Linked DNA regions of Homo sapiens: all the other regions are linked to region 2. The links are contacts of gene promoters, found by promoter capture Hi-C in blood cells and fetal thymus (Javierre and others, 2016). All regions are on one chromosome and are shown on one strand. The core of a region is centred on a gene start or on the middle of the fragment in contact, and the rest is flanking DNA. Distances in the headings are between cores, read along the strand shown. Region 1 has its middle 46 kb from the start of ADAM28. Region 2 holds the start of STC1 (stanniocalcin 1). Region 3 overlaps LOC107986931 (a long non-coding RNA gene).

Region 1 (2,700 bases), core at 100-2,599, 390 kb after region 2:
CCAGATCAGTAATCTGGCTCAACCAGTTGTGCAATCCCACGCAGGAATAGAAGGCAGCAAGAAAAACCCATTTGACCCCGTATGATTTCATCTCTGACCCAACCCATCAGCACTCCTCCACTCCCTGGCCCCCCACCAAACTATCCTTAAAAAGCCCCCATCTCCAAATTTTCTGAGAGACTGATTTGAAAAATAAAACTCCAGTCTCCCATTCAGCTAGCTCTGTGTGAATTAAGCTTTTTCTCTACTGAAATTCCCCTGTCTTGATAAACCAGCTCTATCTGGGCAGCAAGCAAGAAGACCTCATTATGTGATTACATACTTCTTGTAATAGTTAGGGCTCATTTGGTCTCAAGTATCAGAAATTCCAGACCACTTTGACTTTCACATTAATGAAATCAGTTTCTAACTTAAAGTCCAAATATGGGACTACCTTCAGGAGAGACTCAACTCAGATCCAGACGATGTTACTCAGGACCTGTCCTCACTCTCTCTTTATCCTGCTTTCTGCAGCATTGACATCTCTCTCAATGTCCACCCCTCCATTCTGCAGCCCACTCCACTTACCCCAACACAGTGCTAAGCTCTCAATTCATGGTAGCAAAATGGCTGCAGTGGCTCCAGGTGTTAACTTCAGCCTACATTATTTAAGAGTACAGAGAGGTTCTCTTCTGGTAGATCCCAAGCGAATGCTGAGATGTATCCTTTCTCTGGCCTGAATTGGATATTACACAAACCTTACAGAACAGAAGGCAGGATCTGCTGGTTGGCTATAAGCCAACCAGGGGCCATTTCTGCAACTGGGAGGGGGTGGTCCTTCCCAAGCCTCCTGCTGGATAATGATGGCAGGGTGGATTCTCCACAATCTTTTGGCAGAAGAATAGCAAAATGAATTCTGGGGAACAATTGGCAAATTATACCTCCTTCTCTGTGCCACTGTGGCTCAACCTAATACTTTGTCAACTATTACTCCTCTCTGAATTAGGAGATTTTGAGTAAGATTTATAAGAATTGACTTCTGTAGTATCAAGACCTTTTATCAGGAATCACATCGGCTATGGCTCCCAGATGCAACAGTTGTTAACTAGGTGATTTAGTTGCATTAGAAATTCTCTGAGTCAAAATTTCTTCAACAACAAAAATAATGAGTCCTAAACTACTAAATTCTTGAGAGCCTGAGATAGCAGAGGTAAATTACCTAGCAGAGAAATAATTCTCTTTTCTCTCATGAGCTACCTAAATAGGCAGCTCAGGTAGATATGGCCCAACCAGACACTAGTCCCTCCCCTACCTGAATTCTAATAGGATTTGGTGCTAAAATGCATCTTCCAGAAAACACTCTGTGCAGCTCAGCCAGGTGTGCTCAATAACTTACTCAACCTGATATAGTTATATTAGGGTTATAGCTTTTTCCACAGGAACATCAGGTAACTGCAGGAATGAAACCACCGCCTACCATCTCTCCCCCAGACAGACCAGGAAGAAGATGGCTTTTTGCTAAGAATTCACTTGGGTGTTTACAAATGATCATTTCAATAGTTTCAATGTGCCTTTATGTAACTAAGAGAATGTACATTAAGATACTTACTGCCCTATATTGTGTTTATTTCTTGGTACCTTCAAGTCTGAGGGATTGGTTTTCTGAAAACGAGGAAATAAAACCAAAATAACTAAAACTTCTATTCATAGTAAAGTTTTAACTCTAGAGCAGTATTTATGAACTGGGGAGAATTCTCCTTAGGTGATATTTGGCAATGTCTGGAGTCATTTTTGGTGGTCACAAAAGCACAGGGGTAGTCATACTGACACCTAGTGGCTGGAGGCCAGAGGAGCTGCTGAATATTCTACCATGCACAGGGCGTCCCCTGACAACGAAGAATTATCTCTCAGTTCAAGAACGTCATGGTAGATTATGGGACAGAAAAACATACTTATTTTCATTCTTAGGGCTCTACATTCTATAATATGTGAGATTTGATATTTGTCCTTCTGGAAAGATGTGTGTGTGTGTGTTGGGGGGTGGGTTACTTGTGATTAGTTACTTGTTGGAGAATAAAGAGTATAAGTCACTGGAAAAGATTTTGATTTAAGTTTGAAATGTCACTGGCTTCCCTAAGCCCGTTTATAGAAGGAGTTAGAGATCCAGACCAATGTTTTCCTCCTGATTTGCCAAATATATGAAATTTTGTAAATTATACATGTGTATTTCCAAATATAATTCAGACTGGGAAAAATCCACTTCATGAGGGAGGAACGTGCATTGTGGGGGTGATGGTGAAGCCCAAAACGCAGAAAGAGAGTCACATGGCAGAATTTAGAAGGAAGGGTCAATTTCACAAAGAAGCACAAAGGTAAGGACTCTAGGCAGGGTGACCACACATGCCAAGTGCCCAGGAGAGTTCTAAGTTATACCCCTTGTCCAGATGGCTAATCATAGTGCCCTCTTTCATCCTAACCATGGAGCAAGCTTAGGCACTGGGGTGAATACGTATGGCGCCTACTTAGGGAAGTAGTCTATTTCTTGAGTTTCTTGCCATAAGAATAAAACTACAGTTTTAAGTACTTGCTCTCCTAGGTTGTTATTCTTATTTTACTTAAGCCTTCAATAAAATCTGATATACTTACAAATTTGTAAATGGAGAATAGAAAAACAAGCCTGGCTGTCTCACCTTCATTGATAAGTAGCAGCTGGTTGCAGAG
Region 2 (2,700 bases), core at 1-2,500:
GTGATCCGGTCTTTGCTGACAGTTGGAGGACAGAGGGCAGTATTGGAAGGGGAACAAGTGGAGCCAGAGAAGTCAAGAGGCAGAGGTGTCAATGCAGGCTTCCTAATGATTCTTTTCCTTCAGAAGCCAAGATAATGCACAATTAACTGCTCCAAGAGTCAAGACGAAAGTGAGACCTTACCCTTGGAGAAACAGCTGCTACGTTTCACAATTTTTTTTTTCTAGGGGCTCTCTGGCTACGGGCTGCAGGGACGACTGAATGGAGCCCTACAGAGCCAGGAGGGAGACAGGCAGCAGGGTTGGGGGTGGGATGTATAGGGTTTTCTCTGAATCCGCCCTGGATTTGTCAGACTTGAGGGCTATGGTTCTGAAAATCAGTCTGAAGAGGGAGCTTTTCTGTGTATTCTCTTAGGTAGAGAAGTCAAGAAGTGAAGAGGTAGAGTCTTAAGAGGAAAGGAAGAGGGACAGCATCAAACAAGCCAGGTCTTACCTTAGATCAGCTTCTGGAAAGTATAGAGAGCGCTTTGAAGCATGCCAACATTCAAGCCTTTCCTCCCCTCTCACCCCTCCCCCTCCAAGAGGGTACGTGCCAGATTTCAGGCAATCAGGCTAGGCTTATGCAATGAAATACCCTCAGCAGAGCGTCCAGCTTCTTCGTTTAGTTGCATGCAATTTATTAAACAAAGGAGCTCCACTGCCTAAGGCTATTGGATTACACTGGCAGTTTATTGCCATCAGGCATGAAGCACATTTATTATCAAGATCAGCCGTCACAGACACAGTTGCAAAAGGGAGAGGCAAATGAGGACAGCTCTTTGGGGGAGAAACCGCTCTTGGGTTTGCTGCTTACCTGAGTTTTGAGCCGCCACTCGGGATTTCCTGGGGCTCACAGAGTCATTCTGCTCCGCCTCATGGGTTGCAGAAGCACTGATCACCAGCACCAGAAGCACTGCTGAGTTTTGGAGCATTCTCTGAGAAGTTTCCGCTAAGTTGTTGGGTTTTTTTTTTTTCCTGCCCCCCTTTCCTCTTTCCCTCTCCTGGCTTGAGTGAAGATGTGGATCTGGATACACTGAAAGCTTAGGTGAGGATTTGATGAGGATTTTTTTTTGTTGTTGTTGCTGGTGATGCTGCTGCTGCCACCGGTGCCTCCGCTGCTGCTGCTGCTGCCGCCGCTGCTGCTGCTGCTGCCACCGCCGCTGCTGCTGCTGCTGCTGCAGTCGCTGCTTCTTGCACCTCTGGCTTTTGCAAACTGGGGGCCCAAGAGCTGCACCCAGGGATTTTATAGCCGTTCTTATCGGTCCTCAGGATCAAGGACCAATCAGGTCCCTCAACTGGTCTGGTGAGCCAATAAGAGGGCATGCAATTCAGCTGGAGCTTTTTGACTTCTTAGAAATATTTTCCAGCAAATTAAAAGTACCTGCTGCCAATGTTTTATATGTGTGTGTGACTGTGTGTGCAGAGATGTGTGAAAAAGCTATTTTCGTGGAAGTAAGAGATAACTCTGTATTGATTGAACTAAAGAAAAATCCTATAGAAATCTCTCCAAGTTGCTTTTTGAAATCTAGCCATCTTTTTTTCTAATGAGCCACTTGGGGGAAATGGATAGCAGGGGTATGGTGGGGAAATGTGATCTCTTTAGATGAGAACTTAACCTGCTTACAGCAGTTTTACTCTAATTTTAACAGCACATTCTCGGTTCTGTTTTGTAGGCTACAAATGCAATAACTCCCTATCTTCTCTGTGTGTACATGTTCACATGTCTATGATGCATTTTTGTTTGTATGTGGACATCCTGGGTTCTCACTCACACATTTGAGCCCTTGAGGGGGAATTTATGTGAGTGGAAAAGCCTTGGGGGACTGAGATATGACAGCTCAGAGCTGAAGCCTTAGTCCCCCTACTGATCAACCTATGACTCTGGCTAAGTCTTTTTACCTTGCCCCACCTCGTTTTCCCATCTGTAAAACGCCAAAGTTGGACTCTGACATTCTGTATACCTCTAAAATAATGTGATTCTTCAATAATCAAATCAACTTTGACTTCATCTTTTCAGTCACCAGCAAAATTGCATAGTCCAGGAGTGTTAGTTACCCCAGGTACACATGTGCACACCTGCACATACCACACTCAACAGGGAGACATCATGAATGCCTGAAAATTAATAATCTGTGTTCAAGCCCAGCAACTTTATAACCACTTTGAAACAATAAGCTGGCCAAAGCAAGACTAAACCTGCTGAATGGAAACCAGTTCATTTCTTGGGGAGAGGGGTAGGAAAAAAGGGGGCAGAATGGAAAGAAGGGGTAGAGAAAGACCAGAATGTGTAGGAGAGAAGAATGATAAGCTCTAGACTTAATAGGAAAATTGCACTGCAATCACAAATCATGCCTGGTATAGAAACTTATATTTTCTTATAAGTGAGTTGTAGGCAATGCTGAGGTTTGTCCCCAACATGTGAAGGAGGTTAATGAGCCAGAAGAGGACTTCTTAGGGTAGGAAGGTGGTGAAGGTATTATACAATAAAACCTTTAATAATTTTGGGGAAGTAGATGAGAAATGGCCACTGGTGATTCATACAGATTTGGGCAGGATAATCTTGCAGAGAAATGGGGCCAGTGGCTTTACTTTGCATCCTAAAACCTTCAAACAAAAGTTGAAGAAAGAGTGCCACCCCTGTTAACCACAAACTAAACCAAGTGT
Region 3 (2,700 bases), core at 76-2,575, 320 kb after region 2:
CTACTTCCTCTGCTGCCTCTCCAGATTAAAGCACTGTGATATTTTCTCTGGACAATTACAACAGTCTTCCTGATATTCCTATGAAAGGATCCTGTAAAATTTGTGTCCTTGCAACTCAGATACCCTACTCCCATGATGTCTGATGTCTATTCTCTAAGTGACAGTTTTTAAAAATATAAGTCAAATTATTTCACTTGACTGCCAAATCCCCCCAAAGGTTTCTCATTATACTTGCTAAAAGTTTCAAAGTCTTTACCATTTGTTCTCCCACTTTATCTCCCATCACTTTCTCCTTTGTTCTATCTTCTGGTATTAACGTTCATCCTTGGTTCTCTTAAACATATCTGTCATGTTCTTGCCTTAGGCATTTGCATAGGCTGTTCTCTTTGCCAGGAATGCTCTTTCCTACTTATTTCTGTGGCCTTCCCCAGGACGACCTTACCGAGAATAACCTTCCTCCTGTCCATTCCTTACCCTGTTTGCTTTGTCTTCATAGCATTTTAGACATCTGGTGTACCTTTGTTTCTTTCCTATCATCTCCTACTGGAATATAAGCACTGGAAGGTTGGGAACAGCCTCTTGGTTTTATTCACTATCTCTCGAAAGCCTGATACTTGGCAGGGCCTCTGAACATATCTTTGGACTTAATGGGCCAGTGCTTAAAATCAATATTTAGCAAAAGGCAAATATTACTTTCAGGGAAGAAACTTCATGATATGGGAATTAGAATACCAACAAATTAACCATTATTACAATTTTTAATTTGTAATTGAATAGTCAAATTTTATAAGTTTGGCATAGAAATGGAAGAATGTTAATTTCCCAGTACCTTAATCTACAAGCTTGCTTCTGTCACTGTACTGAATGTTTGCCTTACTAAATACATGCTTACTTTCAACTGAAACTGGTGAATGACCAAGATCATTTTTTACTCCTGCTGCTGACAGTGTCCAACTTGTAGCGATGCTATCACCTAATTATTACATTTTTCACCCATCTCCTGACATAACCCCTGAACTTGATTTGTATTATATAATGCAATTTCTTTGAAGCAATCTTATAAACTAAAGTTTGATATAGTATTTGAAAAAAGGATGTTTTCTGAGTATTTTCAGATTTCAGGCTTAGAATTACTGCCTTCACTTATATATTTTATTTCTAAGATTGTTTTGCATTCACTTGCTGTTTTACATAATCACTGCGGGGAAAATGCCCTTAAACTACAGACACAGAAATGCAGAAATGAAAGCAATGTAATTAGTTTTCAAGATAACAAAAATTGCCTTTGATTTATTGTCTGTAACTCCAATGTAGTTTCCATTTAATGAATATTAATTTTAGCATTTTACCTGAGTGGAATAATAGAAGGATGTTTGCAGCAGATAAAATATAAGAAATTGATAAAGTTTTGAAATTCTTCTGTTTGGTTACTTCTTCAGCAGTGCCCATCACACTCACTTCATTTTCTGTAAGAAACTATTGATGAAATAGGTCACGCTGGTTGGTTGTGGGTTGTCTGTAAATAAATTATTAAATATTTATTTTATTCAAGAAGTCTTTTTGACCTGTAATTGCAATTTTACCACATTTGAATATCTTGCATAGGTATTTGATAAGGCAGTACTCAAATCTCTTATATATTATGTAGTTTGTCTTCAGCTAGAAAAAAATGCAAAATTCCCAGTACATTCCTGATAAGGCAATGGATTTTTTTTTTTTTAACATTATCTTGTACTACAATTTCTTTCTGAATATACAATTAATTGGTGTTAACAAAACAATGTATGCTTTTGGCTTCTTAATTACTTAAAGCTTAGACCACATCTGTGCCATTTTCAACATCGGTTGCATAACATTGTTTTATTTTCCATTTTATATGAATTTCTTCAATGAAATTCACTGTGTTAGTTTATGTGGGACACAGAATTCTCTGAGCAAGCAAGCAAAGCAGACATATAGTGGAAATCATTCTTACTCCACTGAGCTGTCAAACCTTCAATATTTTCTTCTAGAGTCAGAACTATAAGACAAATATTATTAAAATACTTTTGTAATAGTTTTGAAATTTACTTAGTGAAAAATAATGGTGCTTGGGATACCTTTATTTGTTTCTAATTTTTCCTTCTTCAGACTATTTATTTATAGTGTTTATTGCTTTGAATCAAAGTAATTTAGTGTGAATGTTTTGTACACGATTTTGGAAATTTTTCTTTTCCTGGAAATGTGGCTTTTAATCCATCCTTATAGATATGAAAATTCATGAGTAGGATGCTTTTAAATAAGCTTTGCAGTATAGGTGGAATTATCTAAAAATTAGTAAGGATTGCTTCATATACTATTAGGAATGCGAGGATAGAATTACTCTATAAATTACTAGAATTATAAAGATTTTTTCCTTTTTACAATTTCTATTATATAGATTTTTAAATATTGTTGTTTTATATTAGGACTATGTTTTCCATACAGTTAGATAGTGCTGCATAATCTGTCTAGTATTCTCAAATTAACTATAAATATATTACTCTATTCAACTACTTGAAAGTTTTTAATATTTGTTTTTATATATAAAGTTAACAGCTTTCAGTCATTAATTATAGAAGCATTTTTCTTGCAATAATACATAGATATATTTATATTTCATTCAACTGATAGAATCTTAAAATATAGCATATAAAAGGGTTTCATTCCAAGTTATAGCTA

What was found. The method cuts DNA at HindIII sites, captures the fragments that hold promoters and counts their contacts. A CHiCAGO score of 5 or more calls a contact.
Region 1: a fragment that was not itself captured here is called in contact with the fragment with the promoter of STC1 in region 2 in 1 of 17 cell types (total B cells); the score reaches 5.4 in total B cells.
Region 3: a fragment that was not itself captured here is called in contact with the fragment with the promoter of STC1 in region 2 in 6 of 17 cell types (M2 macrophages, total B cells, naive B cells and 3 more); the score reaches 9.5 in M2 macrophages.

Annotation. Positions count from the first base shown.
Region 1 is chr8:24,247,196-24,249,895 of GRCh38, forward strand. No RefSeq gene overlaps it. Among named protein-coding and RNA genes, the nearest start is that of ADAM28, 46 kb to the right of the region's middle. The HindIII fragment of the contact is 2,231 bases long and covers 235-2,465 here.
Region 2 is chr8:23,853,556-23,856,255 of GRCh38, forward strand. STC1 (stanniocalcin 1) reads right to left here and starts at 1,251. Exons shown (of 4, transcript NM_003155.3): 1 at 851-1,251. The coding sequence starts at 968. The HindIII fragment of the contact is 2,191 bases long and covers 1,075-2,700 here.
Region 3 is chr8:24,175,671-24,178,370 of GRCh38, forward strand. All of the region lies in intron 2 of LOC107986931 (a long non-coding RNA gene), which reads left to right. Among named protein-coding and RNA genes, the nearest start is that of ADAM28, 120 kb to the right of the region's middle. The HindIII fragment of the contact is 970 bases long and covers 841-1,810 here.